Regions from separate parts of the Homo sapiens genome. Here region 1 is linked to region 2. The links are contacts of gene promoters, found by promoter capture Hi-C in blood cells and fetal thymus (Javierre and others, 2016). All regions are on one chromosome and are shown on one strand. Each heading gives the region's core, a stretch centred on a gene start or on the middle of the fragment in contact. The rest is flanking DNA. Distances are from core to core; before and after follow the strand shown. Region 1 has its middle 170 kb from the start of LINC01425. Region 2 holds the start of NCAM2 (neural cell adhesion molecule 2).

Evidence for each region. Contacts are between HindIII fragments. The CHiCAGO score rates a contact against its expected background, and 5 or more counts as called.
Region 1: a contact is called between a fragment that was not itself captured here and the fragment with the promoter of NCAM2 in region 2, in 2 of 17 cell types (M2 macrophages and M1 macrophages). The highest score is 11.9, in M2 macrophages.

What each region holds. Positions count from the first base shown.
Region 1 is chr21:21,918,465-21,924,360 of GRCh38, forward strand. No RefSeq gene overlaps it. Among named protein-coding and RNA genes, the nearest start is that of LINC01425, 170 kb to the left of the region's middle. The HindIII fragment of the contact is 5,101 bases long and covers 1-3,898 here.
Region 2 is chr21:20,996,789-21,002,495 of GRCh38, forward strand. NCAM2 (neural cell adhesion molecule 2) reads left to right here and starts at 1,621. Exons shown (of 18, transcript NM_004540.5): 1 at 1,621-1,830. The coding sequence starts at 1,776. The HindIII fragment of the contact is 4,236 bases long and covers 1-2,550 here.

The DNA.
Region 1 (5,896 bases), core at 98-2,597, 920 kb after region 2:
TCTAGAATGGCTTCTATAATAGCAGTATAAGGCTGTGTTCCTGGGATGACCCCAGCTCTCCCCCTACTCTACATCCTCCCCTTTCCCCTTATAATGTCGGCCTGAGAAAGCTCAATGTTGCCAAATGAATTTACTATTTGTTCCATCAAAAACCTGCTGATAAGCAGATAGGCTGTGGAAAACCATCTTGGAGAAGCTACTTCAAAAGACTGCTCCATTCAGGCTGCTATAACAAATACCATCGACCGTGTGGCTTTTAAGAAACACAAATGTATTTCTCACCATGCTGGAGGCTGGAAGTCTGTGATCACAGTGGTGCCTGTTGAGAGCCCTCTTCCAGGTTGCAGGCTGCGGTCTTTTCATTGTATCCTCACATGGTGAAAGGGATAAGGAGGTTTTCAGGTGTTTCCTTTGTAAGGGTTGTAATCCCATTTATGAGGACTCTACCCTAATAATCTCATTAACTTCAAAGACCTCACTTCTTAACACCATCATAGTGGGAAAGAGGTCTCAACAAATAAATTTTAGAAGTACACAAATGTTCACTCCATAGGCAGCTTGCAATTATGTATCTTTTTTTTTTAATCTCTTGTAATGGACGTGAAGCTAACACTCTAAACTGTTTCTTCAAGGACCTGAGAGCTATCTCTGAAATGCAAACATTCAGGGAGATAACTTGTTCTTTCACCCAGTCTCTGTGGGAGGACGGGGACTAACTCCTGTGGGTCTGTGCCTCCTTGTCACCTGTCATTATCCCTAGGTGATGAGATGGCTCACTAGAATTATCTCCAAAAAGCAAAATTAAAAATGAAACAGGGTACCAGGATGAGTAAAACACAGCTTATCTTGGGTTTCTAGTATCATCTAAGGGAGTTACTGAAACACACTACTAATGCCTCATGATACTAGATAAAATTTATTGGGGATAAATCAAGAAGGGATGTAGCACAGTGCATGCTTTTCCTTATTATTCTACAGCCTTATGTTGGACATAGTTGTTCTTTATGCAGTTTCACTGAGATCACAACAGATATAGTTTGGCTCTGTATCCCCACCCAAATCTCATCTCGAATTATAATCCCCGTGTGTGGAGGAAGGGAGGTGGTTGAATCATGGTGTTGGTTTTCCTCATGCTGTTCTCATGATAGTGAGTGAGCTCTCATGAGATCTGATGGTTTTATAAGTGTGTGGAAATTCCTCCTTCACTCTCCTCTCTTGCATGCTGCCATGTAAGATGTGCCTGCTTCCCCTTCTGCCATGATTGTAAGTTTCCTGAGTCTTCCCCAGCTGTGAGTCAATTAAACCTCTTTTCTTTATAAATTATTCAGTCTCGGGTATGTCTTTATAGCAGTGTGGAAATGTACTAATTCACCAGCTAAAAAGAGTATGTTTGGACTAGTAGGAGTGAGAATACCTCAACAAAGAGAGCAGGCTCTGTTCCCATCCTATGTTGCTATCTCTAGCATAAGCCGAGAGGTCCTAGGTAACACCTATTTTTTTCCAAGAAACCAGAAAATATATCAAGGAATTCCTAGGCTCAGGAACATATCTAGGAAATATGCATAGTGAGTATCATGTCTATTCACAGAGGGCCTAGAGAGCAGCTTTGCGTGGCAGGAACACACAGATCAGCCAGAGGTGTCGTCTCTCTGCAGAACACTTACTCTAGTGGAGCCATGTCTCTGCTCAGCTTCCGACCTGGCTAGGAAATCATATTCCAGGGTTATTACAATTGCTTTCTCATCATATAACTATATTTCTCCCACATTTTTACTATAGCCAGGAAAAAAAAGTCAAGGTTTAAAAAAATGACATATTCTGTTTGAGTTTCGATTTATTTTTAGTAGGCTAAAAAGAACTTCCATATTGTACTTGACCTCAGTTGGCGTGTTTATGTAAAAAACAGGGCTCTTTCCACCTTTTATTTATTTATTTACACACTTATTTATTTATCAGTTCAAAGTCTTTTGCTATGTGTGAGTTTACTTTGAATGATGTTGGGGACAAATATAAATAAAGTTGTAGACATTGAGAATTTTAGAATAATGTGGGACTCAGTCCATAAGAAGGTAAGAACCACAAACTATATAGGGAAATATAGACATAAATTAGACAATTTCAACACTTTATTACAGTAGAAATACCTAGAGAATGAAGTTGAAAACCATGAAAGAGAAGGAAGGACCTGCTTGAGGGAGGAAAGGGTGTCAATAAATTCTTAAAAAGAAAATGCAACACTTGAAAAAAAGATAAAAGAAGCAAGCACTTTACAGATGGATGTGTTTGGAGGTGAAATTTTAGGCTGAGGAACAGAATTAATAAAGACTTGACATTAAGAGAAAACATATCACTGGAGAGTTTAACATACTTCATAGAATGCCTGGAACACAGAGTGTGCAGAGAAGAGAGGGTTAGTGATGAGTTTAATGGATATGCATGACCTCCATCTTGCCTCACTAATAAATTTATCTTTGAATTTTATGTCATGGTCAGTTGCTGGTATATTTGATGCAAAGAGAAACCAAAATAGAATTGTATTTAGAAAGAACACATGGGCAAAATATGGAGGATAGATTAAAAGAAAGTGAAATTAGCATTTGAGAGGCCAACTGGGAGATGACTCTAGGAAACCAAATAGGTGACTCTTCCTTTGAATAGCTTTCCATTTTTATCACAAATTCACAATTTGTTACCCATTTGTAATTTTACATCAAGTCACAATTAAATTCAACTATAATAAACAGAACTCAAGGGCCAGTGTTTGGCAGTGAGATTAAGAACTAAAAAAAAACTGAAACAGAGCAACAAGCATATAAATATATAAATAAATGGAAAGGTCAGAGTTAAAAAGAGAATATGCAAAGTGGCTTGGAGTTTTAAAAATTCAAAGGGAAATTCAGTCAATGAAAATAAATTAAAGCCAAAAAGGATTATGAGCAAACTCTCTGAAGTTAAAGAACCCGCCCTACACACTCACCATATTTGTAACATTCTTATCCTTTTATTACAGCAAACATTCAAATGAAACCATTAAAATCACTGCCACAGTTTGATTGCAAGACCTTATCAAATAATGGATTTGACATTATTTATCTTCAAAGACTCAACATTCCGTCTAAAGCCCTGAGGCCTTGAATCTCCACTGAAGCTATAGATCATCTTCACAGATATGACTTTGATCTGATGACCATCTTTGTGAGGAAATTTTCCTTTAACTAGTGTGTGTCCTAATTAAAACAGAGGTATCTGCTGCGATTAAAAAAAAAAATCAAGGCATTTCTTACTAAGATTTCATCTGAAATACCTTCATGGTCAGTGGAACCTCAGAGATCCAGGTGCATTATACCTGCACGCTAATGTTTTGGCTCCCCCTGGAGGATATTAGTATGTCACAGAATTTACTAAGTGACAGAGTCAAAGCTAGTTTCCCACAAGCAATATAAAGTTGAAAAGATGAAAGATGAAAGGAAACAATAACAAAAAATAGGGGGTTCTGATTATATGATAGAATAACTGGTACTGAATTTGCCATCCCACAATAAACAACTTTAAAGCTAGACGGGGTATTTGAGACTAATGTTATTAGTCAAAAGAAAAGAGGCAACAAAAGACTGATCACTGAGGGAAGGGAAAATCGGAAGGCAAACCTCAAAATCACCCTGGCTCCTGGTGAAAGTATCCTTAAAAGTGGCAGAGCAAGCTGCATTCTTAGCAGGGCATGGTGTTACTACTGGACCCAAGAGCAAAAATCAGAGTTCAGATCAGCAATCTTGGATCTACAGGGCAAGACACTGGAAAGGAGGTAGTGTCAAACGGTTGGTAAGGAGGAGGCAGAAATCTTTATGAGGGCTTCCTGTGATGAACGGCTTGACAGAATGTGCGGAGCAAGAGCGCATGAAGCTTACAGTGGAGCAGTTTCAGCCAAATGTAGAACAAAGCAACAGAAATAAGAGAGGTCAGACAGTGCTACAGGGACATCAGAGGTCTAGCTCAGGTAAAAGGGAAAGAGATCGTTAATCATCTCTCAATCTCAGGTCATCAAGTCAGAGACCATGGAAATGCTAAGAGTTTAGAGTAGAAACAATGCCCAAATCATACGTATTAAAATGAGAGACACCATTAGGTTAGAAGTAAAATAATAAGCATAAAAATCCTAGTGACTATCTTATTACGATACAAGTAGACTTTATAAAAAAAGAATGAGTCAAGAAATAAAGACATTTCATCATAATAATAAAGGAACAATTCATTAGAAAGACATTATTTTCTAAATATGTATACACCTAAAAACAGAACTTGAAAAATGCATGAAACAAAACTAACAGACAAATTCTAAAATTTGAGGACTTAACATTTCTTCTGTCAGTAATTAATAGAATAAGTAGAAAAAATACAGCATGCATATAGGAGATCATAACAACACTATCAACCTACTTGACCTAATGAAGATTTACAGAAAGGTATGTCCAACAATTACAACTCTACAGGCTTTAGAAATACACACAGAAAAAAACATATTTCGGTCCATAAAACAACGTTCAATGCATTTCAAATTATAAAAAAATACAGTGTTTAGCCTGACTCAAACTGTATTAAATTCAAAATCAATAAAACAAGAAACAGAAAATTCCCCAATATTTGAGAATTCTATGACACATTTCTAAGCAGCCCATAGGTAAAAGCAAACATCCCCAAATTATTTTTAAAATATTATAAAAAAAGGAAAACTCAAAATATTTAAATATATAAGATACTGCCTAAATAGTTCTTAGAAGCAAGATTGTAGATTTAAATGCCTATAATTTAAGAGGAATAAATTTTGAAAACAATTGTAGGAGCTCCTACCCAATAAGCTCAATAAGAACAAATTAAATTAAAAATAATGGGCAGTAAATAATAAAAATAAAAACAGAAGTCAATGAAATAAAAGACAAGAGTAACAAAAACAAAAATAAAGCAAAGTAACGTAGTTCTGTTGAAGGTTTAATAAAGATGATAAACATATAGTGAGATTAATAAAGAAATATTTTAAAGAGAAAATTACCAAAATAAGAAATAAAAACCAGGATATCAAAAATTGATCATTCAGATATTAAAAGGTTAAAAGAAAACTTTATAATAACTTTGAGTACTTGGATGAAATTGACATATTTCTTGAAAAACTCGACTCTACAAAATTAAAGAACAAACATAGAATCTAAAATGACATATATCTGTTAAGAATATTGAGTTAATGATCAAAACCATCTCAAATATATACAAATACGTATATATTCCAAACAGAGAGGGTTTCAAAAAGTACTTCTTTATAACATTTAGCACTTGGAGTGCAGTGTAGAAAACTTACCTCCCTTCAGTTTCCTGTACTTTTACTACTTTTAAATAACATTGTCTTGAGTATAGGATAGTATTATAATTTCTCTTTTAATAATAAAATGTTATAAAACTCATGGGGAGAATGATATACTGAGTTCAATAGTGTCTCTCAGAAACCAAAAACCACAGAATGTGGTCATATTTGGAAATTTAGTCTTTGCTGATATAACTAATTTTAAGTAATAATGAGGTCATGTTGGGTTAGAATGGGCTCTAATGTGATAATTGATTATTTTCAAAAGAATTGAAAACAGAAACACAGAGACACAGACACAGGGAGAGTGCCATGTGGCTATGGAGATGGAGACTGGAGTGATACACCTACATGCCAAGGAATCCCAAGGTTTGCCAGCAACCACCAGAAGAGGCAAGGAACGATAAGAGAGAACATAGCACTGCTGACATATTAATTTATGGCTTCTAACCTCCTTCTCTCTGTGAGAGAATACGTTTTTGTTGTTTTATGCCACCCATTCCACGGTACTTTATTACAGCAGCCCTAAAAAACAAATACAAAGTT
Region 2 (5,707 bases), core at 371-2,870:
GCCAAGTGGACGAATCATCTGTATAAAGCGCTCTGCCTGGGGAGGACAAATCGCAGACGGTATCTCCCCTATGCATGTTAGCCTGTGTCTACTCTTGCCCCCTGCCCTCCCTGAAGGCAATGCACTGCCCTTTTCAGCGTGAAATCCCCAGGCTGGGGCTGGATTCTGAGCTCTACATTTCTACCTCCCCCCTCTCCAACCCCCGCTATTTCTATGTCCTCACTGATAAGGAAGGAGCTAGGGTCCTTGTGGAGGCCGGGGCGAGGCAGTTGAGTTTTCTAAGGAGCCAGAGAGAAAGTGCAGATGAAAGGACCCATCGTCAGCGTTTGCAGGTCGCGGTAACCCCAGGCCAGATTGACATGGGCTCCGCACCCGGGCCGGTGATTCTGCCTCTTAACCGCTCTTGCAGGAGAGGTGACGTTAATCTCACAAACGTTTTCCTACCCTTCTAGGAGAAATAACGATAAGCCCCAATCTTAAGGAGCAGAGAGTTAGTTCCGGGCGTTTGCCACGGCTCCCTCACTTCAATTTACACTCGCACACGCGGGTACGTGGGTGTTCGGGGTAGGGCACTGATCTGGGGAAGGTCTCCCCCCCGCGACCCAACTCATCTTTGCACATTTGCAGTCCTCCCTCGGTGCACTCCTGGCGGGGATCTGGCCAGTGCAGCGCACTGGGACCGAGGGCAGAGCCCGCGGAGTGAGGCCAGGAGAGACTTCAGGCCTCTAAGGACACAGCTGAGGCTAAGGCTGAGTTGAACGCAGCCCCTCCCGCGGCTCGTCCCCTCTCCAGTGTCTCTCCCGTAAGGTGCCGCTCCCAACAGCAATGGGTCGAGATGTAGAGGAAACACTCTGTACGTTATTTTTCCGCCCACCCTTTAGCGCCTGAGGAGACAGACAGTGTAGACTTTAGGGTACAATTGCTTCCCCTCTGTCGCGGCGGGGTGGGGAGCGTGGGAAGGGGACAGCCGCGCAAGGGGCCAGCCTGCTCCAGGTTTGAGCGAGAGAGGGAGAAGGAGGTCCACGGAGAGACAAGAATCTCCCTCCTCCCACGCCCAAAAGGAATAAGCTGCGGGGCACACCGCCCGCCTCCAGATCCCCCATTCACGTTGAGCCGGGGCGCGCTCGGGGCGGTCGCCTGCAGTATCAGTATCAGCATCAGCATCAGCATCAGCATCTGCATGAGCATCAGCTCAGCTCAGCTCAGCTCAGCATCAGCTCAGCTGTCCTGAGGCAGCCGGCGGCTGTGAAGGAGCTCCAGGCTGCCCCCATCCCCACGCCCTTCTCGGCTCAGGGCGTGCATGAACCTGCGGATGGCCGGCGGGCGAGTGGCGCCTTCGCGATCGCGGCCGCCCCTCTAGGCGGAGGCACCGGGGACCGAACCCGTGACTTCGAGCTCCACTGCGGACGAATCCCGGGACCGCGCGCCTCGCGGAAGAGCGGCCGCCGTGCAGCGCGGAGGGATACGCCTCGGCCGCACCTCCCCTCGCCGCGCCCCCGCCCCCGCCGCCCTCCCCGCCCGGCTCTGCTGCCGCCGCGGCGGCCGCTGCTGCTGCTGCTTCTGCCGCCGCTGCCGCCGCCGCTGCCTGGATATAGTGCGGCAAGAGCGGAGCTTGCAGTCACTTTGCGAGGAGGAGCGCGCGGGCTGCGGGCGGCTGGGGCACCGCGGGAGCGGCGGCGGCGGCTCTAGCAGAGGCGGCCGGGGCAGCGAAAGGTTCTCTCTCCAGGGCTGGACTTAATAACTTTGAAACTGTCCACCGGTGTCACGTCCTGAACATGAGCCTCCTCCTCTCCTTCTACCTGCTGGGGTTGCTTGTCAGTAGCGGGCAAGGTAGGAGTGTGGCGCTTTATTGCATTTACTTTCCCTCCCCCTTCCACCCGGCCAAGAGAGGCAAAGAGGGAGGCGCAGGAAGAATGAAATGAAAGAACTAAAGTTACAGTTATTGCTGTTGTTGTTATTATTATTTTCGTTCTTTCTCCTAGCTGTCCCTAAAATTGTATCTGTTGTGTGGAGACCCTTAAATAAGAGAAGGGAAAATACAGAATTGGAGAGGGGAATCGGTGAGCAGGATATCCAGGGAAACCGCTTCTTCTTCTTCTTTTTTTTTCCTCTGGGATTATGGCTTTCTCTTATTTTTATTATCAGAAATTGGATGAGTGTGTTAACAGTGAAATATCTGAGGTTGCGGAAGGAAAGGGCACGATGGTGTTTTACAGAAGCAGCAAAAACTATCAGTGTTAAACTCATTTGCAAAATATCTGCTGTGTGCAAGACGTTCGATTCTTGGAGACTCTTTTTTTTTTCCACCCCTTTCCCAAAACCCTAATTCCTGACTATGAAGTGAATGATGATGGCTTATTTCTGTTGGAAACTAAGAGAGGGGCCGTGGATATTGTGTGTAAGAAAGCAAATGGATAAAACTAGGGATGTGTTGCAGTCATTCATTTTGACCCCAACCCCTTATTAATACAGAAAGGTGGAATCATTTTATAACATTACATTGTAATTACACCTGTAGAGGATTTTTGGGGTTGTGGGAGAACTGGTGGAAGCTTTTATCTCTTAAAAAAAAAAAATGAATAGCCTGGTAGAATAACCTGAGAGGGAATTTGTGGAAGCTATCACTGTTTGTCTCTAGAGAGATAGATATGAATTTATCTGGCTGTTTAGATAGTAAACACTCACATGAAATATATTTACAATAAATGGAAGCATTTTCAACTGTCCAGACAAGTTTGGACGTTTAATTAGGGACACAAAATGCTAAAACATGCATTGGTGAAAGTCTTTAAAGGAAAAATAAAATAGCACTAATTTTGAGATATGTAATGATTGCAAAGAATGTTATGTTGTTAGTGTAGTGTGAAATTGGTTTTTTAAAATAATATAATAAATTACAAGACAAGTTAAAATATCCCCAAGATATTCAGTTCTAAGCATTTTTAGCCTCTTCTGTATTGCTCGTTTGGTCCAGCAGGGGGTGGTAGAACTCCATTTTAAGCCCAGAAGTTGGTTTCTGCTCTTCCACAGAGTCCTTCTATCATTCTTCAGCAGGGCTTGACATTTTGGATGTGAAGCCTTCCTTTTTCTGCCCTTCTCCTCCCCACAGCTATAGTGTTAGTGGCGGATGAAACACGATTGGATGCAGATTTAATGTTCAGAAATCAGTATGCAAATGTTGGATATTCCTATAGTTTGTAAAGTGTCTTGATAAGATTCTGCTCATTTTCCCTTCCTAACATAGAGTATGAAATATTTCAGTCTTAGCAAAATTGCAGATATGTCCATCTGAAGCTAATACTAGCCCAATTCGTTAATTCAGTGGTTCTTAAGCAAAGATCAGCATGCACATATGTCCTACAGATATGCTTCTTTAATTTTCAGATAGCTGCTGATTGTGTTTAACTGTTCATTTATAGCATAGACAGGTATTTTTGAGCACCAAGAAACAATCCCTGAAAATTGCAGTTAAAATACAACTGCAATTAAATAAGTGTAGGTAGTGTGGGGCAGAATGGGAGCATAATAGGAAACAAGTTTATGCAGACTTAGGATTACATTGTGAGTGGTTTGGAGAAGAAAAATGTCTCAGTTGTGGAATCTGAATTTATCATTGTAGAGGCTAAGTGTGTTGGAATTTGGAGACATAGGAAATTAGAAATGTTTAGATATATAGGTTTAAATAGTACACAGAGACATAAAATTTGGATGTGTACATGTAACATAGATGTGAAATTGTGATTCAGCTAATTTGTAAGTCAGGATACGAGGTGGTTATGAAGAGGCACTCTGAGACAAGCATCTCTGAAGGGGAGCCCATATTCACTGTAATGAAACAGGGTAGAAGGAGACCATCATTGTAAAGATCTCTCTATCTAGTACAATTTCACAATGTGTGGCACTCATAGAGACACAGATATATATCAGAGAGACGTAGCTTTTGTGAAAGGGAACATATAGTACTTCTATGCCATGTGTCCTGATGAAGTCAGAGATGCTTGGATATAGATATCCTCATCCTGGAGTCCAATTCCTCTATGCTAGTGTTTTGTTCTCTAATTAAGGATGCAGCAGCAAGTATCAGACACACCACCGGGAGCTGTTTAAAAAAACAGACCTAGTGTAACTCATGATTTTGTTTATTCTCTTGTAAAGAGGGCCATGGAAAAGCCACCAGTCAGTGATCCCTGGTCTTGCCTTAGAAATACTAAAATCTCAGCTTGCTGATTTATGTGTCCAACAGTATACTTGCAGGGGATTTTATGAAGCATGATTGAAGCTATTGCTTTGGAAAGTGGTGTGCAGTTAGACTGAGGAAAGGCAACAATGATGTATTCCCTTTTTAGGAGTCAAAACGTTTTGAACTGAAGCAGTTGAATAGGAGAAAATGACATTAAGTGAGAAACTGACTAACTTAAGTGAATGCCAATACTATAATTAGCTAACAAGGCCTAATAGTTTACTTGTAACTCTCAATACAACCTTATTGTTGTACAGTAGTAAGACGCTTTTTTTTATTGTAGCAGAAATACTCCTTTAAAAGCCTCTAATTTCCACTGCAAGATTAATGTATAATGAAGTAAGGTTAGAATGTTATTGTGAAGTCTGAATTTAATTGTCAATGAAAGAAAATGCTGTAATTCTGTAACTTTTGCAATTATTTTTCCTTTGTGTTCAAAACTTGGTCACAGGCTTTGTAATCATAAATCTCAAGTGATAACTTCAGTTTCTGATTAACTGCATTTGCTGTTTGGATCTTTGTATATTCAAATTTCCAAACTGTTGTATGTATGGATTGCTTTCGTGAGAGTTTTTACATTTTTGAAACCACTTCCTTCTTCCTTTAAAAATTAAACAAGTATGATTAATAAGCATTTTTCCTGGATGTTCACATATGTAAGATAGAAGCACTGTTATACTAAAACCTAAAGTAAGAATAATGCTATTCATCTCTCTTGCAATGCAGTTCAAACGTACCACTTAGAACACTTACCTAAGCCAAAATCGTGAGGAAAGGAGGGGTGAATTGCCCAGTTGATCAGTTAAAGCAGTCATCTGCTTACAGTTATTCTCTTTGGTGAAGTGCTAGTAAGTCATTGTACATTACAGCAATGTACCTTCTAAAAATAGAGCACAGGTGTGTGAGTGTCTACTAGTTTGAAGATTACAGGAGAGAGCTCCACAAACTCATCTTCTGTCGGGGCTGTTACATGGCTCCAGCCTCTCTCGTATGCTTTTTCTATCTGCTGTGCTCTAATTCTTTGATATCAGCCTCTCTGTGCAAAGTTTCTATTAAATCGACTGGGTCTTCTTTTGCACTTGGGGAAGATGTAATGTAAAGGCTAATGTAAATTAATATCTTTATTGTCAGAGTAACCCAGAGGATTTCCCTCACTACTTCATATCAAAGGAGTTAGGCAGAGTATTTTCTCACTTTTAATGCAGAATCGGAGCCCATAGAGCAAGAAGGGAAGTTGGTGGGTCCCGAGAGTGTCAGATGAGTCTTTTCAATGACACAGGGAGCTAATTTTCTCCCCGAGGTACTGTCCTACTAGAGAAGCAATTAATGGAACAAAAGAACCTCATTCAGTACCAAAAGTTAGACTTCATATGATTTTGTAAATAGAATGGCCTTCTTTCAAAAATAGGACTAGTTTGCAATGAAACTGAGAAATGAGCTACAGAGATTGAGGCTAGTAACCAAGCT